Regions from separate parts of the Homo sapiens genome. Here regions 1 and 3 are each linked to region 2. The links are contacts of gene promoters, found by promoter capture Hi-C in blood cells and fetal thymus (Javierre and others, 2016). All regions are on one chromosome and are shown on one strand. Each heading gives the region's core, a stretch centred on a gene start or on the middle of the fragment in contact. The rest is flanking DNA. Distances are from core to core; before and after follow the strand shown. Region 1 has its middle 15 kb from the start of LINC02944. Region 2 holds the start of SLC18A2 (solute carrier family 18 member A2). Region 3 overlaps FAM204A (family with sequence similarity 204 member A).

Evidence for each region. The method cuts DNA at HindIII sites, captures the fragments that hold promoters and counts their contacts. A CHiCAGO score of 5 or more calls a contact.
Region 1: a fragment that was not itself captured here is called in contact with the fragment with the promoter of SLC18A2 in region 2 in 2 of 17 cell types (total B cells and naive B cells); the score reaches 7.9 in total B cells.
Region 3: a contact is called between a fragment that was not itself captured here and the fragment with the promoter of SLC18A2 in region 2, in 1 of 17 cell types (megakaryocytes). The highest score is 6.4, in megakaryocytes.

Annotation. Positions count from the first base shown.
Region 1 is chr10:118,254,107-118,257,932 of GRCh38, reverse strand. No RefSeq gene overlaps it. Among named protein-coding and RNA genes, the nearest start is that of LINC02944, 15 kb to the right of the region's middle. The HindIII fragment of the contact is 2,724 bases long and covers 1,053-3,776 here.
Region 2 is chr10:117,238,832-117,242,880 of GRCh38, reverse strand. SLC18A2 (solute carrier family 18 member A2) reads right to left here and starts at 1,767. Exons shown (of 16, transcript NM_003054.6): 1 at 1,661-1,767; 2 at 1,067-1,202. The coding sequence starts at 1,187. It overlaps SLC18A2-AS1 (SLC18A2 antisense RNA 1), which reads left to right and starts at 884. Exons shown (of 3, transcript NR_184310.1): 1 at 884-996; 2 at 1,098-1,220; 3 at 2,700-4,049. The HindIII fragment of the contact is 8,499 bases long and covers 1-4,049 here.
Region 3 is chr10:118,328,878-118,333,059 of GRCh38, reverse strand. All of the region lies in intron 6 of FAM204A (family with sequence similarity 204 member A), which reads left to right. Among named protein-coding and RNA genes, the nearest start is that of FAM204A, 11 kb to the left of the region's middle. The HindIII fragment of the contact is 1,706 bases long and covers 1,466-3,171 here.

The DNA.
Region 1 (3,826 bases), core at 1,165-3,664, 1.0 Mb before region 2:
AAAAGGATCTTATAGATATTCCTTACTGACCTGTAATTTTAAATTTCAAGTTGATTAAAAGCAGTTACTGAATAGCTGTGAACTTGGTGATATTAGCAAACTTTAGCCAGGATGAATATCCCAGAACTGCCCTGACCTCTAAATCAGTTTCTACACAAAGAAACCCAGACAGATATCAGAAAGAACACGTTGTCTTTTGCGCTCAGACATCGGTTCCAGAATCGCAGGGAAGGTTTCCTCCGCTTTTGCCCTTTTAGCTCACTTGCATACCATGAACACATTGCTTGCTGGTCTTACCTAGTAAAGGTCTATGTGCTATGAACGCATAACTAAAATAACCTCAGGAAAAAGAAGAGTGATAACTACAAAAACAAAACATAATGTTCCTCCACCTCCTTTCCGAGGGCATTTGAAGGCCCAAGGCATTAGTCCTCTTGGTCCTTTTTGAGGGCTCATGTTTGGGAGTTTCAAAAGGCAGTGATCTAATTGTTAAATTTTGGAACAAGTTCTCCCAGTTTCATCCTTCTTGGACGTTCATCTCTGAGGATTTTAATGAGCCAGAGCAAGACAGAAGTGCAAACATGAAATGCGTCTCCAGGCTAAGTTGACCAGGATTAGACACTGCCATGGCCAGCCTCCTCCCTCTGGAAGGCACATCACATTATTATTATTTTAAAAATCAAACTTCTTTTTAGCTGAAGTAAGTTTCCTTTCTGCTCCTACAAATATCATGGCTGGTTTAAGGTTTGATGTCTGCTTAATGCCCAATTATGCTATACAAGACAGATCACACTACATTAGCCAGGATTATGTTGCCTCTTGATCTTATCAGCTTTGTTTCCTAAACTACAAAAAGATCTAACACAGTACTGGTTAGCAGTTTGGCTTAGACAATCTCTATCGTCATCCATCACTGTCACCAGTTAGCAGGAGGCATTAGGCACAAAGCTAAGAGACAGGATGCAGAGCTGACACTCTCTTCCCAGGCTAACACTCTAATTCCACATTTACGCCAGCTCTTCCTAGGCTCGCCCTTCCTTACTATGGAAGCTTTCTTTCCCTTGCTTATTTTTGGAAAAGGAAATCTATTCCCGTAAGTTGTTTGCTTGCTTGGTCTTAAATTCTTTGTAAGTATAGACAGGAGAGGGAGTAAACGCATAAGGAAAATTAAAATATATATTCCTCAGCTAAAATGAGGGTTGTAAAGTCAGAGATCTGAGGGAGAAGATGGAGACTAATGGATTGAATCTGACCGTTCCTACCTCTCAGGGCTGACTTGGGAAACTCCATGAACACAATGGGAATTCTCAGCGGCAAGGTACAGCTGGTCTAGCAACTTGTATTTAGCATTTTCTTTTCCATCATATGTGGGATGACTCCAAATGTGTCCATGTCTGCCTTAAACTCTGGTTGTTTTAAGTCATGCGGGATTACTCCCAATTTGTCCACATCTGCCTTAAACTCTGGTTGTTTTAAGTAGCACCAGGAGCAAGCCAGGACATCTGGGTTCTAACCCATTCTAAGTCAGAGCAGATACCATCTATACTGGGCACTTGTTTTAGTTCAGCAGCCTTCACGGGAAGCCTCACACAGAGACACGAAAGAGCGTGAGATTTCAAAACAGACTCCATTACCCCATTTGTGGTCAAAATCTGATAGAATCAAGAAATAGGAATCCCAGTAGGGATATCTATGTGTCAAGTGGTAAACTTGATAATCGTAAGAATACATTTAATGCAGCAGGAGAGAATACCAACCAGAAGATTAACATTTCTGTTATATAATTACAAGTTCAAGGAGTTCAGCCTCTTATCACTTTATAGTGAGCATAGGAAGTAGGAGTGATCCTCTTTAATTTGTAATTATTTAACTGCAATGTGAGGTCCAGCGGCCTTATTCTTACCCTTCTGGGCTGCAAGACATTGGTATGCAGAATCCATGCGAGAAGGCGCAGAACACTATCAGAAGAAGACATGTTTGATTATTCTTTAAAACCAACTAAGAGAAGTTAATCTCATTGAACTTCTTTTTATTCAACAAAAGAGTTGGATGTTTCCAAGTCTAATGTGACTATAATGTTCATTAAATGGACTTCTTTACACCTTTAAATGGATTAACTGCACATCTTTACAGTCTAATTATTATACACGTCATTCAAAAAAATCACAGATCTAATTCAGGGGATGATAAAGGCCTTTCTTTTGCGACTATGGAAGAGACATTGCAGTAAATGGATGTGATTTTTATCAGTGCCATATTTAAAAAAGGGCACATGTTGCTCCAAGGAGGTGGGAGGGAAGGACGGGACTGGATGTGCTGAATTTTTCTGCCCTGGTAATTTTATTTCAGAGATTTAGGATCTGACCATGCTGGTGCTTGCTCCTTCCGGGCTCGCTGTGCCAGGCACCTTAGAGGTTCCTCCCGCCTAAGCCTGCCCGGCTAATGACTTCAATCTGTCCAAGACAGCTCTTAGTCAGATAAGCGATAAATTATGGACAGCCCCCCTTCAGTCCCAGGCCTTTGGGGATCCTCTGAGTTCTTTTACCCAGACCTTTCTTGAAAACGAAAGACACTCTCTCACCACGCTTCAAGAACATACCAAATCAGTTTGTTTTTTTTTTTACAAATACATTTGCCATTATCTCTCTTTGGGCCTATACTTCTCTCTCTGTCTCTTTCTTTCTTTGCTGGGGGAGCATTACATTTGGCATGCGATGGCAGTTCGCTGTGTCCTGAGGATGTCAGAAGCCTTGCTTGGCTCAGGCATGTACAGATGCCCTAGAAGCTATTGAGAGATGCAAGGACATTTCTGTCTTTGGAGAAAGGAGCTCTTGAGGGGAGGACCCTGGAAGGCCCCCAAGTAATAATTCAGGCTTTTTCTGTTGGAAACTGAAGAAGGCACAGATTTGTCTTCATTCATTTCACTGATATTTGTTGAGAAGTTATTACAGGTCACATAGCATGTGTAGTCAACCAGATGCAGCCCAAAGTTGAGCAGACACAATTCCTACACTCAGGGAGCATTTGGTCTGAGAGACATTAACATAAAACTTTGTAAATTGAAGGAGGCTCCCAGTTTTCCATTAAGGAGGGGCTGAGAGTTGGCAGTCTAGTTAGAAGGCGTGTTTAGAGCTTGGAGTTTGTGCTTGCTCGGCAAACTTAAGCTATTTTTCCTGATGTTGAACCTACATGGGGTTGCTTTGGAGTGGTGAATGGGGACTTGAGGGAGGAAATGAAACACCCAGCCCGTCTCTGGACACTCCCTCGGAGCCAGTCAACAGTCCCCACAATCCCAGTCCTGGCTCCCCCAAGCGAGAGGCTAGACCACAGGCAGAAACATGAGGCGCCTCTGTCTTTGGAGTGTCCTCATGGCACCATGGAAGGCGTGCACATGGTGCCAGGCATGCACATGGAGCCAGGCAATGCTGTGTGGAAATGCCAGCACTGCCATTTCCTAGAAATGTGACCAACAACAAGTTACTCAACCTCTTTAGCCTCAGTTTCTTCATCTATAGATGGGGATAATTACATCCATCTTTCAATGTTCTTATGGGGACTTAGAAACAACAAATATATAAAGGGACTAGCACGATGCCTAATGCCTAATAAATAGTAAGTGCTTAATCCATTCTAGGCCCCTTGTCCTTCCCTATCAGTTTCCCTTTCACTGCCTGTCTCCCCTCCCCTCCCCAGTGTGCCATTCTTAATCCTCAGTCGTGTCCAATTAACTGGGACTAAGGTTTTACCTCATAAACAAAGTGTAACAGCTCAAAGCTTACCTGTACTAGTGGTCTTTGCCTTTTGGAAGGCAAATCCTAAAGCACTG
Region 2 (4,049 bases), core at 518-3,017:
GCATGCCGGTAACCCAGCTACTCGGGAGGCTAATGCAGGAGAATCACTTGAACCCGGGAGGTGGAGGTTGCAGTGAGCCAAGACTGTGCCACTGCCCTCCAGCCTGGGCAACAGAGTGAGACTCCATTTCAAAAAAACAAACAAAAACCAAAATAAAAAGCAACAACAAAAAATACAAATTAAATTGTGAAACATATAATCGAAGCTGTGAGCACATGTGTCCAATGGAGCATTCGAGCCGAAGCAGAACTAATGCCGTTGGTACTGAACAGGGATGAGCTCCACGGCTCTGATAACTCCTCGAGATGAAACCTATCAGATGCTCTGAAAACTGCTGTGAGAAAACCTGCAAATGGAGAGAAAGGAAACAGCTCCCACCACTTACAGTCTAAATGAGTCGTGATTTTTTTTTCATTCATTAAAAACTGGGATTTTTTTTTTTAAGGAAATGCATGCCAAATACTTCTCTGTTAATGGGCCTAATTAAGGGACCTGGATTTCGATTATTTAATTTTTCAAAATTCCACTATAGGAAAAATAATAGAACCAAGATTGTTCAAATTGTTCTTGCAATGGTTCCTGAAATATTTCCATCTCAAGTCATTCACTAATACAGTATATCTAAATGTCTTGTTTTTGGAGTAAGGGATCGAAACTTGCTCTTTTAGGTACTACACCAAATTACTAACCTGCCTTTTCGAGTAGCCCAATAATTATTCTAACACGTAATTTTGAACTTTAGGAATTTCTCTTTTGGAACAGAAATCTTTTTCATCGCAGTGAAAGCAGGCAAGAGGATGCGGGAAATTATCAGGGGGAAACATAAGTTCTGGGTCTTATCGGATGTCACAGTTTTTGACCCGAGCATCAGGAAAGCGAAGCCACACAACGCGGCTCCTCCTAGCCCCGGCGCGGCAGCCTGGAGGGGATGTCTTTTTTGCAAAGCGAGTTCTCCAACTTTCCCGGGCCTTGGCGGAGCTCCGGGACCGCGCAGGGGTAAGTGGAGTGCCGGGGAAGGGGCGCTGGGGCTGGGGTGCCGGGGCAGGGGTGCCCTGTCCGCACGTACCCACGACAGTGAGCAGCATGTTGTCCAGCAGCAGCGCCAGGAACACGATGAACAGGATGAGCTTCCGCGAGCGGCGGCTCTCCTGCAGCCAGCGGACCAGCGCCAGCTCGCTCAGGGCCATGGCTCCGGGGCTCCGCTGCGGGCGCGGTGCGCGGTGAGGACCCAAGGCGGCCGTGGACCCCCCATTCTCCCGTCCCCCAGGCCGCGGAAGGGCGGGTCAGGGAGCCGCGCGCACCGGCATCCGGGGACACCCCCGGGCGCCCCAGCCTCGGCTCACCTGCCTCGAGCGCGTCCCCACGAGAGCCCGCGCTCCCTGGAAAGAGCGCCCGCGAGCGCCGTCGGGGACCCAATCTGGAGACCCAACCTAGAACCCCCAGGACGCTGCCCTGATCCCCGCCGCCCCCAACTGTGCCACCTCCCAAACTGCACGCTCGGCCCCGTGCACCTTGCGCCCTGCGCCCTGCGCCCCGGCTGCCCCGGGGTCCCCGCAGCCCCGCCCGCGTAGCTCTGGGGGCCTCCCTGCCTCCCTGCCTCCCCCGGGCCCGCTCCCCTCCGGCACCGCGCCCTGCGAGCAGGGAACCGGGGCCGTGTTACCTCGGGGTCGCTTGCGATGCCTGCCCGGGTCCTCCGTGCCCGCGCCAACGCCCGCACCGCAGTGGGCTCCGTCAGTCCGGGCGGCTCCGGGTCGCAGTCTCCGCCCCAGCGCCCCGCCGCCGCCGCTCAGTTTACCCCGTCCGGCTCTGACGTCACGGCCGGAGGGAGCGGGGGCGGGGGGCTGGGGCGCCCCGGCCTCCGCCCGCCCGCGCCGTCGCTGCGCAGGAGGGGCTGCCGCCTCCCTGTCCCCGCCTCGGCCGCGGCCGCGCCTCTTCCCCGGACCCAGCGCGTGGCCGAGTGCCTTGGGGACCCAGGCCTGGGGAAGAGGCAGGGGCGCAGAGGGAAAGAGGTCAGAGAGCCTGGACGAAGAGTGAAGGGCCAGGGACCAAGGCGAGGAGGCACGGACCAGGGCTTTCTTGTGGCTCCAAGTGGTGGCTCGAGCTGCTTTGAATAAATCACGTGGCTCTTTGAGCCTCAGTGTCCCTGAAATGGGCCGTGAGGACGGGAATGATGGCCGCGGGGTGAGATCGCCAGGGGTGACAGGTGCTGGGAGCCAGGGACAGGCTTCCCTTTCCTGAAGAAGCCACCCTTTGCACCCACCATCCCCTCCCCTCTCCGACCTCTGCAGCCCGATGCGGGGTGCCACTCGGAGGAGCCTTTGAGCCTTGGGCATCCTCAAGCTGGTGACTTGGAAACGGGGGGGGGAAGGGGACACTTTTCAGTGTCGCCCTATGGTGGGAGTTGGGGAGGTGAGGGTCCCAGGTCTCAGAAAGTGGGAGCAGTGGGTTTGGGCCTCTGGGGCCACCTGAGCAGGGGACCCTGGAGGCTAGGTGAGTACACCTGGCCTCAGAGAAAGGGCTAGGGGGCGGGCTGTGGGCGGGGCAGCAGGCCTAGGCCCTGTGTCCTGTACTCTCTCCCCACCATGCTGTGCCTGGGCGTCTGGGTGAGAGGTGGTTCCTAGAGCCAGGGGCCTGCGTGTGGCTGGTGCAGAGCTGTCATCCTCACTGCTAAGGGCTAAGAGCCTGCCTTTGATTTCCAGGTCCCTTTTATAAGCAAAGGAGAAACAAACAGATGCCCTCTGACATCGCTGGAGCTCTGCAGGCCCTCCGAGGGGACCGTGGGAGCAAGAGCTGTTTTCTTGAAAAGCTACCTAGAATAAATGTTACCCTGTCACAGTCTCTTAGCAGAAGAGTGGGCTTGTTTTATTAATGTTAGCTTGTTGACAGCAGGAGGCCACTGAGAACAGCAGTGTGATGTGTGGCTGCCCCCGCTCTCTCCACCTCCCTACTCCCTTGCAGAGACCCCCTGTGCTTCTCATTGCTACCCCATGTGTGAGAAGAGATGGTTGAATAGGTAAGTAGGTCAGGAACATGGGTCTCCAGGATGTCACAGGATGTGCACAACTTAAACATTAAACAGGGAGGACAGAAGGAAAACCACTTAGGAGGAGGAAGCAGATGGCAGAGAGCCGTTTAAGATGGCAGGAGGGTATCACTCAGGGAGTGCCCCAGAGTGCTTGCTCTGGAGTTTCAGAACCCAAGGATGCAGACTCTACCCCAGGGACCACATGGGGACAGAGAGGCATTATGGTAAAGGGTGCCTGCCAGGATGCCCAGGTCCCAGTCTGCTACTTCCTTGACTGGTGGCCTTGGGCTGGTTATGTATCCTCTTTGTGGCTTAGTTTCGCCATCTCTGGAATGGGGATACTCACTGGACCTACTGCAGCGTGGTTGTGAGAATTCCAGGGGAATGCATAGGCAGCTCTTAGCACAGTGCCTGGCACAAAGTGAGAGCTCCGTAAGTGCCGGCCCCTCATTCATGCGCTGAATATGTGTTGAGCTCTTACTACGTGCCAGGCACTATGGTTAATGCTGGGGAGACAGTAAAGCCTAGACAAATCCCTGCTGACATTCTGACCTGATAGCAGCATCATAGCAGTGAACACTGGAAGCCACACCAAACTCCAGCCCAGCCAGCTGGATGTAGATGGCTCCAGGGACAATGCCAGCCCGGCGTTCCCGCCTCCGGATCACTGTCACCACCCCTAGAGCACTATGGCCTATAACAGACTTTTTGTTGAAACCCCCTAAAAAATGTTTAACAATATGTTTGCCTTACACATTTTCAAGTTGGCATCTAAAATGAGTTTTTTAATCATATATTTAAATAGGGTATATTGTATTTATTGACCTTTATGTATAAAATTATTATCTCTCTCTTTTAAATATACCCAAAGGAATTTGTATAAGAATACAAAACTGCCATGTTATACTTAAGAATATAAACAAGTATCCCTTTAACAGTCAAAATATTTACATTGTGTTCTTTACCCCTTTTAAGTATGTTTCCATTCCGTTTTCCAACAGAATTGTATCCTACCCTAATGCTT
Region 3 (4,182 bases), core at 1,069-3,568, 1.1 Mb before region 2:
CTTCCTAATATCCAAAGCTGTTTTAAAGTGTTCTTTGTATTAAATACAGCTATAATTGTGTTTCTGGCAGCAGTTCTGGGACTTACTAGTAATTCTGTAATCATAACATAATTATTTTGAATCTGTGGGAATTTCTTTAGAATAAATTTCACTCATTAATTTCACTATAAATGTCTCAAGTATTCTTTAGTTGAATCAGTTTGATTAGTCAGCAGTCATTATTGAAGTAGTTTTATGTATACCTAATGGATACTTTTTGGCATGAAAAACCAGAGGTACTTTATTAAATGTTAGAGTAATTGTACAATGTCTTTGATGAATTTTTCAAGTTTTTTATGAGAGGAAACTGCTATTGTATAGTGTAGCTTTTTCGAACTTGGTTTTTTTTGTTTGTTTGTTTGTTTGTTTTTAGCAGAGTGCTTTTTCCAAACAGACTCTTACATGGTTCTCCAATACATAGATCAGTTAAAAGGCTGGCTTCCTTGAGTGGGTGGAGGGAGGGGCATAGGGATGTGGAGGGAGGGGCATTAGGATGTGGAGGGAGGGGCATAGGGATGTGGAGGGAGGAGGTATAGGAGAGGGAGGTTTAGGGGTGTGGTGAGAGAGGTATGGGGAGTGTTGTAGTGGTACCATGAAGATCCCCTGGTATCAGTTGTAAACCATTGCCTCTTGGTTCCTGTGTGATTTCCGTGGGGTAGGTTGATAGGTCCAGTGTTATTCTCAGAATACAGATAAAGAAACTGAAGCTCAGCATAATTTGCCTAAGAAAACAAACCAGGTGAGAAGTGAAATGAGACTTTAAACCCAAGTCATTTGGTCCCAAATCTAGATTTTTTCTGAACCTGGTTTTTATTTACCTGACTCATATGATTTTTTTTTTTTTTTTCTGAAACAGAGTCTTGCTCTGTTGCCCAGGCTGGAATGCAGTGGTGCAATCTCAGCTCACTGCATCCTCCACTTCCCAGGTGCAAACCATTCTTCTACCTCAGCTTCCTGTAGCTGGGACTAGAGGTGTGCGCCATCATGCCCAGCTAATTTTTGTATTTTTAGTAGAGATGGGGATTCACCATATTGGCCAGGCTGGTCTCAAACTCCTGACCTTGTGATCCGCCTGCCTTGGCCTCCCAAAGTGCTGGAATTATAGGCATGAGCCATCACACCCAGCCGACTCAATTGATTTTAAGTGGGTATGATTATATATATATATATATATATAAAGGTAACAAAATTATGAATAAATATATGATTTACATTTATGTATGAAAGTACCTCTTCCGCCCCTCCACTGCCTTTCTTTATGAAGAGATTGCCTCATTTTTTCCTAGATATTTAGGTTCAGTAATGCAAACTTCAATGGATAATTCATTTGTGTTAAGCTTTAAAAATTGAATATATTAACAGAATAAATATTTAATAGCAGAATTTTCATATAAATATATTGTGGTATAGTTTGACTTTAAAAGCTTTAACCACATATAAAAGATATTCTACATATGCACATATAGATGTTAGCCCACAATGTTAAACCAAGTACCCATACATTTCTTAGATATTTGTAGTCCTGTCTTCTTGACATCTATATTAAAACTTAATTAATTGGCAATTGTTGCCTCGTGGGTTAGATACTTCGTTTAGATAAATTTTTCACCTGTGGCCAAATTGCCATTCCTAGGTTTGTCTGTGTTGAGATATATCATAAATTATGTTTTGATTCTAGCCAAAAGGCAACTTAGAAGCACACCAAGGTGCTGCAGGCTATCAGTAGCTCCTCTGTGCCTCCTGCCACTCCTATAGTATGGAAGACATTCTAGATAAGTCAAATAAAGGCTACTCTTGAGTCCAGCTTAAAACTTTTCAAAAAGCCTTAATACTCAGACTCTATTTCATGAGATTGCTTACTGACAAAGTGGAATGCTTGGGTCTTGTACTTGGGTCTGAGCTTGAAGAAGTATAATGCAGTCTGTAGCCTTATAGAGATAAGCCTTCTCTTTTGCAATAATGGTATCCTGATATTTAGGTTTAATAATAGGAGCACCTTATTATTTATTGAATGACTACTATATTCTAAAAACGTGGCTAGGTATTCTATATATATGTTCTTTGACTCATCATAATCTTGCAGAGAATGTGGTTTTATTCTCATTTTATTGCATGTGTAAGATAACTGCAACCCACAGAGGTTTAGAAACTCACTCAGGGTTGCTTAGTTCATAAGTGGAGGAGCTAGTCTGAACCTAGGTCTGATCCTGCCAGCTGTGCTCTTTGTGAGCTGCTGTGAACTTACAGTCTTTAAGGAGATGGGAATGTTTTACTAAGTGTTTTGAGTGTATTTGGAATATTAATAAGTTCTTATGGAAACAAAGTTTGGGTGTACATGGAACCAGGAGTTTTTCAGAGCTAAAAGAAGGTAGTACATTTTATTTAAATAAATTGTCAGAAAGAGAAAAGGGCTAAAAACAAAGCTGAAAATGTGATAGAAACCTAGAATTTTTATTTCTAGGAGGGTTACTCATTCAAGCCAGTCTTCTTATTATCTTTGAGGAAACAGAGGCTTATGAGTCAAGTATGTCATTTACCCAGAGCTTTGACCACATCTCCTGTCTTCTAGTCCTGTGCTCTTTCCACTGTAATATGCTATTACCTTTAGATTATGATCTTAATGGCTGGGGGAATGGACAGGCAAAAGAATGGAAGCTGTTAGTGAGCAGGTTGTTGAGATGAATGGTTGGAGCAGGTCTAGTTTGATTGCTTCCCTGCGTGAGATTGGATAAGTTCTGAGTTGAGGTATCAGGCTATGCAAGAATTTGTAGTGCAAGGAAACTTGTAGTTTGATATTAATGTTTTATACAAATAGATTTTGACACATACAAATATGTGTCAGTGACATTTGAGGCGATGGTTAATATTCTGCACAGGAAAATGAGGCTGTTGTATTTACATTTTTTAAAGAAAATAACTATTTTCAGTAAAAATTAAATAAAGTTCTAGGTGCAGGTACTATTTTAAGCTCTGGGAGCCCAAGATGGAGAAGATACTCTCCATGCCCTTGAGGAATGTATATATTCTAGTACCAGGATAGATGTATATATAAATGAGTACAATACGTGTACCTTTTTTTAACCATAGGGGCATTATTACTTCAATATTACAGTTGTGAATTCTCTGGAAGCTTCTCAGAGTAGTTGGTATGTAATAAATGTTCCCAGTTTGAGTGGGGTCCTTTCACTATGAATGCAAACATGGATGACGGCAGTGTGAATATCAGCTCAGTAGCACAGACTGAACAAATGTCTTCTATGTAGAAGGAACTGGGCTGGATTCTGGGACACACCAAGCCGGTGACACACAGCCTGCTCTCACTGAGTATAGGACTCAAGAGGGGAGAATACACAACTCACTGTAGTGTGTCAGACAAGTTAGGTGCTGAAGGGACACAAGGTACAGCAACAGCACAGAGTGGAGAGCCTGGTGTGGGGTTTGGGGAGGGTGATGGGGTCATAGGAATGTAGGGCTGAGGAGCTCTGCGTAGATAGAGAAGGTAACATTCGACGTGAGCCTAAAGGGATGATTAATATTTTTCAAAGAGAAGCACATCAGAGGCACAGGGAACATTAGGAAAATGGTAAATGTGACCAGAGATTAAAAAGCATAGCTTTTTAATTGCTGAAGATGGGGTTGAGAAAGCATCTGGGGACCCCATTGTGAAGGGAGTGGGATGTTATTCAGAGGGAATATGAAGTAATGCTTTAAGCTGGGTAATGACATGATGCCTGTTTCAGAAAGAGAAGACTAGTTTGGAGATGGTTATAATATTCCAAATAAGGGATCACGTGTCCCTGAAGAAGCACAGAAGGAAGAAATGAGAGACTTTTGCCAAAATAGAGTTCAGATAGGAGCAAGGGGTTGGAAGCATTGAAGATAACTGAGGATTCTATCAAGGGTGACTGAGGAGGAGGAGAAGCAGGGCAGCAAGTGTTGGGCTTGTTACAGACATCATGAAATTGAAGACCTTGCCTTTGTAGGCCTTCAGTGTGAAGATGATTAGCAAGTAGCTGGAGATGTAGGTATTGGTACAGGGGAGAAGTCAGGTGTTTCTAATTATTTAGAGAGCTAAACCAGCTCATAGAAAGTAATTGAAGCTCCAGGACAGAGTAGATTACTGGGGAGGGTAAAAAGTAAGAC